Regions from separate parts of the Homo sapiens genome. Here region 1 is linked to region 2. The links are contacts of gene promoters, found by promoter capture Hi-C in human tissues and cell types (Jung and others, 2019). All regions are on one chromosome and are shown on one strand. The core of a region is centred on a gene start or on the middle of the fragment in contact, and the rest is flanking DNA. Distances in the headings are between cores, read along the strand shown.

The links. The method cuts DNA at HindIII sites, captures the fragments that hold promoters and counts their contacts. A contact is called where the count stands out against the background at its distance.
Region 1: the fragment with the promoter of SPINT4 here is called in contact with the fragment with the promoter of WFDC2 in region 2 in 2 of the 25 tissues and cell types used here (mesendoderm cells and small bowel).

Annotation. Positions count from the first base shown.
Region 1 is chr20:45,719,585-45,724,594 of GRCh38, reverse strand. SPINT4 (serine peptidase inhibitor, Kunitz type 4) reads right to left here and starts at 2,248. Exons shown (of 3, transcript NM_178455.3): 1 at 2,113-2,248; 2 at 538-715. The coding sequence starts at 2,227. The HindIII fragment of the contact is 7,531 bases long and covers 1-5,010 here.
Region 2 is chr20:45,466,850-45,471,429 of GRCh38, reverse strand. It overlaps WFDC2 (WAP four-disulfide core domain 2), which reads right to left and starts at 1,677. Exons shown (of 4, transcript NM_006103.4): 1 at 1,570-1,677; 2 at 898-1,041. The coding sequence starts at 1,648. RefSeq lists silencers at 753-802, 823-1,012. The HindIII fragment of the contact is 12,073 bases long and covers 1-4,580 here.

The DNA of each region.
Region 1 (5,010 bases), core at 999-3,498, 250 kb before region 2:
GGGCATTTGATTTCCTAACTGCAAAATGAGCAAATGATCCTGACAGCCCACCCAAATGTGGTTTTTTTTTTTTTTTTTTTTTAGATGGAGTTTTGCTCTTATTGCCCAGGCTGGAGTGCAATGGATGGCGCGATCTCGGCTCGCCGCAACCTCTGAACCCTCTGAACTTCTTGAACCCTCCCGGGTTCAAGTGATTCTCCTGCCTCAGCCTCCCGAGTAGCTGGGATTACAGGCATGCGACACTATGCCTGGCTAATTTTGTATTTTTAGTAAAGATGGGGTTTCTCCATGTTGGTCAGGCTGGTCTTGAACTCCTGACCTCAGGTGATACACCCACCTCAGCCTCCCAAAGTGCTGGGGTTACAGGCATGAGCCACTGCGCCCGGCCAACCCAACTGTTAAAACTTCTTATTTGAGCAATCCTCCCTCTTCCCACTCCAAGCAAGGTTAGCCCCTGATCAATTTTCTCTATCTTAGGATGTCAAAACCTCTTCTTTTACTACCCCCAAGGACCAAGGACAGGATTAGATTCCTTACGGTGGTTTGTATTTTGCAACACAGGCTACTTCACGTTCTATTTTAAGCTTGAAGTTGTTAAGGTTGCCATTACAGCCGGAGAAGACAAAAGTTTCACATCTTTTGGAGGTTCTGTTGTAGAAATATCTAAAGTGAACTTCATAGCAGCTTCCAAAATTCATGTCCAATTTGCAGGGATCTGCATGAGAGGTTCCCATTGAGTTAGTGGGAATTGGTAAGGACTCAGCAGGAGAACTTGTCTTTATGGGCCCTTAAAAATTCCTACGTTTAGCCTGGAACTATTCTCATATTCAAGGACTCTGAAAGATGTGGTTTTCTCTTGGAGTTAGAGTTGCTTGGAAATGTTGCCCTTGCACAATGCAAATTGGTTAAAATTCCAGGTTGTTGTCGTGAGCAGTGTATTGGAGAAGGAGAAGTAGTGATCAGTGAAAAAGGAGGTTCCACCACTAGCTTGTGCAGGGCGATGAGCTTCCCTACATTTCCTATCTTACAGTTTATTAAAGTACAGTATCCTCCTGCTTCCCCACATCATCTTCCTTTCCTTTTAATTGCCCACATAGGACATGCAATTCAGAGTGCCTCCTCCCCAGTTTCATACATTCACTATACTACCTATACTTCAAAATTTAAGTAACCATGGCTGCTGCTATCTTTAAAGCAGGATGCATACTAAAATGCTAAAATGCATAACCTTGGGGTGATGCTCGTTCATCCTCATACCCCGTCATCTTCTCCTTTCTTGCCTTCTCAGAGGCAAACCCTCTGTTTTTATTGTTAAGAGTTGGGTAGTAAGTGGTTGGAACAGCCACAATCATGGTTGTATTGACAATCCACCTTACTCAAGCAGCCAGCCTGGAATTTACTCTCTGGTAAAGTTATGTGCATAATCTTATTTCATACTCACAAACACCCTCTGCAGCAGGCACTTTTCTGATCTTCATTTTACACATGGGGAAACTGAGACTAAGAGAATAATAAGTGGTTGAGTGACTTGTCCAAGGGCACATATCTGCTAAGTGAACAGGTCCAGAACTTGAAGTGTCTGACTTACGGTATAAACTGTGCTACTTTCTCGTCCCCTGGAAGCGCTGAGCCTTCACACACTATCTATGGAAGAAAGTCTCATTGCCTCTCACATTTACATTGTGAGCTCCTCTAAACAGGAATCATCTGTCCAAGAGTTCTGTATATGTCCATAGCCCAGATACTGAAAATGTCTTAATTTGCTCTGTCTCCAACCCCCTTTCTCTCTCATCCCAATACATAATCATCAATGGTCTGGGATCTTTGAAATTTGTCACACAACCTCTGATTCAAAATACTTCCAGTCCTTTGGACCTCCTATAAAAGAGGTCTCCATCTGGAAAGGACTTTGTGTCATTTCTGTTTTTTCTCATCAAACATCCAGAGGACCCCTAGTGTAAGTAATGCCCTGAGTCAAGGGACTAAGTGTCTATGGGTATTGTCATGAAAGGAAGACCTTCCTGGACTACCTAGATAACACACTTTTCTCCCAATACCTTCTCTCTCATTCATAATTGACCTTTGGATTTATTTTCTGCCTTAGCTTCATACCTTTGAGGTCTCCACATATCTTCTCCGCAATTTTATTAACACCACCCAATAACAGGGTATTCAATGAGCAGAAGATGAAGAATCTTAGAAGAAATCCCAGCTTGGCAGACTTCATGGTGCAGCAAGCAGCAGGCAGGATAGTTGTGGTATCACCTGATGTTATATTTTGGGCTTGATACTTGAGACGGTTGAGCTCACCTACCCCAAGGGCCAGGACTGGACATTACTAGGTGTTGAGTTGAACAGTGAGTGCTTGGGTACCCAGCCATGAAGCTGAAGGCCCCAAACTGATTAGACCCTTGATAGTGAGTCCCATGTTCATCTAGAAGCAATAGAAACTTAAGGATCAGAGCTTCTGCATATATTTAATCATGAAGGGTAGAATCATCAGAGTGAGGAATTAAAAAGGGATTTCTTCCTTTCTCTTTTTGACCTTTTATGCACAGAAGAAACTAATCATGGCACAAGAGAAAGAGTGCAATAGCACTATAATAATAGTAACAGGGTTAGTTATAACCTAGAGTACTACTTAATTCCAGGTGCTATTTTTAAGTAATTTGTATATACTTTATCATCATATACACCCTATGAAGTAAGTACAGTTATTACCATCATTTAAGGATGAAATGGAGACAGAGATTAGGTTACATGTACAAGGTCACTCATTTATTATGTGGTAGAGACAAGATTTGAACTTGGCTTCAGAGTTTTTGTTCTTAGTCACACTACACTATGTTATCTAGGAACATGAGGACATCTTGGATCTGTTTTCTCCTAAAAGTTTTGAAGTTTTGGCTTACCTTTACACCCTAAAACCACCTGATGTTGATTTTTTGGTAAGGTATAACATAAGGATCCTTTTTCATTTTTCAGTGGTTCCAGACCTATTTATTAATGAGTTCCTCTTCTATTTAACTGCAAAATAATTTTGCTTAATTATGTGGGATTGCTTCTGAGCCCTTTATTTCACTCCACTGTATACCCCCACTCCAAAGCCACACTTAATCTCTTGAACTTTGTTTATCTTAGGATTTTGTATTTTCATATAAATTTTAGTCAGTTTATCAAGTTATTCAAAAGACCTGTTTCGGGCCAGGCGTGGTGGCTCATGCCTGTAATCCCAGCACTTTGGGAGGCTGAGGTGGGTGAATCCCATGAGGTCAGGAGTTGGAGACCAGCCTGGTCAACATGGCAAAACCCCGTCTCTACTAAAAATACAAAAATTAGCTGGTTATGGTGGTGAGTTCCTGTAATCTCAGCTACTTGGGAGGCTGCGGCATGAGAATTGCTTGAACTGGGAGGCAGAGGTTGTAGTGAGCTGAGACTGTGCCATTGCACTCCAGCCTGGGTGACAGAGCAAGACTCTGACCGAAAACGAAAACAAAAACAAAAACAAAAACAAAACACCTATTTTGGATATTCATTTGAATTGCACTGGATCTACAAATCAATTGGAAAAGAATGATATCCTTATAATATTGTCTTTGATATATATATTTCCATCTATTTTGACCTTCATTAATATTTTAAAGAAAGGTTTATGACATTTCTCATGCAGGTGTTACAATCTTATTTATATTTTTAATATTATTGTAAATGCTATCTTTTAAAAAAATCTTCAACTTTTATTTTAATTTCAGCGGTACATGTGCAGGATGTGCAGGTTTGTTACATACATAAACCATGTGTGCCATGGTGATTTGCTGCACAGATCATCCCTACACCTAGGTATTAAGCCCAGCATTCACCAGGTATTCTTCTTGATGTTCTCCCTCTCCCTACCACCCCCATGATATGCTCCAGTGTGTGTTGTTCCACTTATGTGTCCATGTGTTCTCATCATTCAGCTACCACTTGTAAGTGAGAACATGCAGTGTTTGGTTTTCTGCTCCTGTGTTAGTTTGCTGAGGATAACTGCTTCGAGCTCCATCCATATCCCTGCAAAGGACATGATCTCATTTCTTTTTATGGCTGCATAGAATTCCATGGTGTGTGTGTGTATATATATATATTTCAGTATCACATTTTCTTTATCCAGTCTATCATTGATGGGCATTTGGATTGATTCATGTCTTTGCTATTGTGAATAGTGCTGCAATGAACATATGCATGCATGTGTCTTTATAATAGAATGATTTATGTTCCTTTGGGTATATACCCAGTAATGGGATTATTGGGTCAGATGGTATTTCTGCCTCTAGATCTTTGAGGAATCTCCACACTGTTTTCCACAATAGTTGAACTAATTTACACGCCCACTAACAGTGTAAAAGTGTTCCTTTTTCTCTACAACCTCTCCAGCATCTGTGTTTTTTGTTTTTTTTTTTACTTTTTAATAATCACCATTCTGACTGGTATGAGATGGTATCTCATTGTGGTTTTGATTTTCGTTTCTCTAATGATCAGCGATGTTGAGCCTTGTTTCATATGTTTGTTGGCCACATATATGTCTTCTTTTGAGAAGTGCCTGTTCAAGTCCTTTGCCCACTTTTTAATGGGATTGTTTGTTTTTTTCTTATAAATTTGTTTAAGTTTCTTGTAGACTCTGGATACTAGAACTTTGTCAGACGGATAGATTGCAAAAATATACTCCATTTCTGTAGGTTGTCTGTTCACTCTGATGATAGTTTCTTTTGCTGTGCAGAAGCTCTTTAGTTTAATTAGATCCCATTTGTCAATTTTTGCTTTTGTTGCAATTGCTTTGGTGTTTTCATCATGAAATCTTTGCCCATGCCTACGTCCTGAATGGTATTGCCTAGATTTTCTTCTAGGGGTTTTGTAGTTTTGGGTTTTACATTTAAGTCTTTAATCCATCTTGAGTTAATTCTTGTATGTGGTATAAGGAAGGAGTCCAGTTTCAATTTTCTGCATGTGGCTAGCCACTTTTTTCAGCACCAT
Region 2 (4,580 bases), core at 428-2,927:
TCATTACAGTACCTTGGTTCTCTCCAGGTCCTATCCCTGCCTCTAATCCTCAGCATTTTCCTCTGGAGAACGGAAAGCTGAGATTCCATGCTGTTTAAGCCACCCCCTGTTCTGATAGCCTGGTGGAGACTGCAGCTCCAGCAAGCACCTTTGAGAGAGTCCCCAGCTCGCGCTCACTCAATCCTTAGAGTGGAAGAGATTGACTGAAAGACGACGAAGGGCGATACAGTGTCCAGGGAGGATTCCTCACTTTCTTCGAATCACTCAGCCAGTTGGCCTGAAAGGCAAAAGCTGAACCCTCACTATGACTCCAGCAGCCATGGGATGGCGGTGTGACCTTGGGCAAGAACATTTTTTTCTCACCGATGCTCCCTTACACATCTTTAAGATGAGCGGGGCATTTTCCTAAATCTGTAAAGTTCCTTTCCGCCTGGACAGAGGAATTGGGGAAAATCTTGCCAGGCCAGGCTCTCCCAGTCTTTCCCCAGGGCTGGGGGAGGCCCCCAGGGAGGGACTCCAAGAGGAGAGGTGAGCGCCCCAGGCTCCGGGCTTTCCCGCAGGGCAGGCTTCGGCCGGTTCGAGAAGGAAACTGCGGCCCCGGGTCCCCAGGCCGCGGGGAACAATGTCCCGGCTGTGCGTGCCCGGAAGCCCGTCATGCACCAGAGACTCGAATCCCAGCTAGGGGTGGGGACCCCCCCTTGGCTGCGTTTCAACGACGCCTTTGTCTACCCCTGGGCCGTGCGAGGGAGAGGACTGACGGATCTGGTTTCAACCGCCTTGACTTTCCCGGGGGTCCCCGGGTCCGGGGGCGCCCCTGTTCCCGGAACCCGGGCCCTCCCACCTCCTCCCAGCCCAGCGCGGCCCCGCCCCGTTCCCGCTCGGCCGCCGTGGGGTTACCATTGGGCAGAGAGCAGAAGGTGGCACAGCCCGCGCTGCAGCACTTGAGGTTGTCGGCGCATTCGCTGTCCGAGACGCACTCTTGCGTGCAGTTCTGGTCAGCCTGGAGCTCGGGGCACACGCCAGTCTTCTCTGCTCCTGTGCCTGGGAGGGGAGGCCCGGGACAGTCGAGGGTGGGGCGTAGCGCCAGCCCCAGAGGATGCCCACCTCCTGCTCCAAACCTTAACCCCAAGGAATTCTCAGTCTCTGGCCCTAGGAGTCCCCTTACAGCCCCCAGAGACTCCTTCTTCCAGACCAGGAGTCCCTGACCCCTGGGAGTACGAGAGCTCCCTAACCCTTGGCGTCGGGGCCCTCAGATCTCAGCCCTAGGGGACGCCGCACAGCTGAGCGTCTCGGAGCTTCCGAGGTCGAGGCAGAGCAGCCCCCACCCCCAGCCCACTGCAGCCACGGAGTGTCCGCGTTCAGCACAGAATCCTCCCAAATTGCAGCCATCAGTGGTCTCTCCACCTCCAGCACATTGGACCCCACACCCTAGGCTCCAAGGGTCCCCGCCACTTCCGCCCCCGGAATTCCCACTTCCCCAGCCTCCAGAGGCTACGCCTCCGCCTGGCTCCATCCTGGCGCTCGTGGCTCGGCCCCTCTAGGCGCCGGGCCTCTCCCCGCCCCACTCACCTGAGACTAGGGTGAAGCCGAACAGCAGCAGGCTGAGGAGGAGGGCGGCGGCTAGCGGGCCTAGGCGACAAGCAGGCATGGTGCTATGCCCGGGCGGGGTGCAGGTGTGAGCCGATGCTCAGGTGCGGGGATTTAACCGCGCGCGCGGGAGGGGGCGTGGGGTAGGGGTGGAGCCGAGCGGGGAAGGGGAGGGTGGAGGGCTTTGCGGGCACCGCGGGCGGGCTGCCACATGAGGTCATTTCACAATCCCCCAGGATCAGGTATCACTCTTGGCCCCGGTGGGAACCAGGAACTTAAGCAGCTTCCAGGACGGGACCAGCTACGGCCGGACCCTTGTCCACGCCTCCCTCCTGACCTCCCTCCTGGGGCCTGAGGGCCAAGGCTCAGGGCTCCTGGGTTTCTATTCCAAGACTCCGAGGTTTCTCCAGAGTGTCCCCAGTGGGCGGTTGAGGAGGATAAGGCAGGGCCCGCAGGGAGGCAGTAGAGCATGCGGGTTAAAGGGTTCGATTTGGGGTCAGCCAGATGAGAGGGCAGATCCCTCTTGATGGAGGGCTAGGGTAGTGATACAGAGCACATAGTAGGGGCTACAGAAATAGCACTTATTATTAATAAACAAACCCTCCTCATCAGAAACAGGCCCAGGAAGGTGAAGCACCTAGCAGTCTCAAGCCGTTTGGGTGTGTGTTTCTGTCTCCCTCTCTTTGTCCTACCGGCCCCTGATCAGGGCTGACTGTGCCAGGCTCTGTGCTCCTTGTCTCAAGGAATTGTCGCCGGTCCTCTGACCGGGGAGTTACTGTTATCAGCTGTATATGACAAAGGAACTGAGTGTTTAGGGATTTAGGACCGCACCTCCACCACAAGGTCCCCTGCAAAGCTGTACAAATAAGGTTTTGAACCCAGGTCTCTCCCTCCAGGCCCTTGTTTTTTCCATTCCGTCGTAAATATTCACTGGGTGCCTACTGTGTGACATATGCAGGGCAAGACGCTTGGTGAAGAGAAAGTCGTCAAAAGGGGCCCTCCAGCACTGGTCTTGAAGGGGTGACAGGGTCTGGGGTCTGACTCCCACCTCCACCACTTCCCACCTGAGGGCCCTGGAATGAATCCTTTCCTGGATCTGAGCTGCCACATCATCAGTGAAAATGACACCTATATGGGACTTCAGTGAGAACACAAATGCAACGTTCCTGCCACGGAACAACCATGTACTCACTGGGAGCATTGAGAGTAGATCCACACTGATTGACACAGGGACTCCAGGCCTGACCCATGATAGGTACTGGATACATGGCCATGAGTGCTCCACAGATAAGTGTCTCCTGTGACGAAGGAGACCAATAAGTATAAATGAAGCTTTAGAATCCAGGGGGTTAAGTGCCAAAACAGAGTTACCCAGGGAGTTAGACAAGAAGTGCTTCCTGCTCCAATGATCTGAGGTTCTAGAAGCCCCAGGAGGTCTTTGCTGCTGGAGGCTAGAGGGGCCCTGGGGCAGTGAACACTGGGATGATAGTGACAGGTGAGTAGGGTTTGGTGATGTGAGTACATCTGGCCACTGTCCCCAAAATGGATGCTGAGAACACCTCCCCCAGCTTCTCATGCTCAACTTGGGGACTGGGGACGTTATTGGGAGGGGCCAGGGCTATTTACTCTGAGCTCAGTCAACAATGAGGGCAGGAGCCAGGTGGGAACACAGCCCATAACAGGCTAGTGAAACCCAGTCTAGGGCACAAAGAGAACACTGGGGTGAGCAGCCAGTTTTTAGCCCGTGGACCCAGCTGGCTACTGTACATTCAGCCCCAGGCACTGCTGCCAACAGCTTTCTTCCGGGCCCTATTCAGCTCCCTGGGCCAGGAAACTGCCCAGCCTTGCTCCTCCCAGGCCCTTATGAGCACCCTATTGATTGGCTCTCTCTTACAGGAATACAGACTGAGGGAGAGTGGCAGGGCCAGGCAGAAGGATGGGGAAGGAATTTTCATCAGTCAATGGCATCAGATGTTTAGCTTTTGTGGTGCCAAGTTCCGTGCTAGGTATAGTTATAGATATTCTCTTTACATCATTTAAAAGGGCAGAGGCTTTAGAACCAAATGCATCCATGCCCAATCAGGGACAATGCATCCATGGCCACTTTCTGGCTATGTGACTTAGAGAAACACTTCATGTTTTGGGCCTGCATCTTCTTCCTGCATAAACTGTGTATCATCCTAACAGTCTTGGATGATTATTATAAGGGTTTTATAAGATTATTATAAGGGTTAAAGGAAAAAGCATAAATCAGAGGTTGCAAATCTGGCTAGAGCACATACATTATTAACTACACAGTATGTTTTAAATTTTTAAATTAGTTGCCAAGATTTAAAAGTAGCGAATTTCATATAAAAATAAACCTCTAGCTTCTCTTGGAAAAAGTAAAAGATCTGGCAACACAGTCCTGCAATCTTAGATATAACAACCATCAGCTAGAGCAGCAGGTCTCAAAATTGAGCATGCGTCAGAATCATTTTTTTTGTTGTTTTTGTTTTTTTGAGACTGAGTTTTGCTCTGTCCCCCAGGCTTCCCTCCCCTCCCCTCCCCTCCCATCTCCTCCCCTTCCCTTCCCTTCCCCTGCCTCCTGGGTTCAAGCGATTCTCCTGCCTCAGTCTCCCAAGTAGCTGCGATTACAGGCGCCACTACACCCGGCTAATTTTTGTATTTTTAGTAGGGACGGGGTTTCACCATGTTGGCCAGGTTGGTCTCGAACTCCTGACCTCAGGTGATCTGCCCGCCTTGGCCTCTCAAAGTGCTGGGATTACAGGTGTGAGCCACAGTGCCCAGCCTAAGCATGCATCAGAATCACTTGGAAGGCTTATTAAAATACAGATTGCAGGATCCCCATCCCCAGAGTTTTGATTAGTAGGTCTGGAACCTGAGAATTTGCATTTCTAACAGGTTTCCAGGTGATGCCAATGCTGCAGGGCTAGGGACCATACTTTGAAAACCAGAACCTAAGTACAGCTACTCTTTTTCTATGAGGGAAG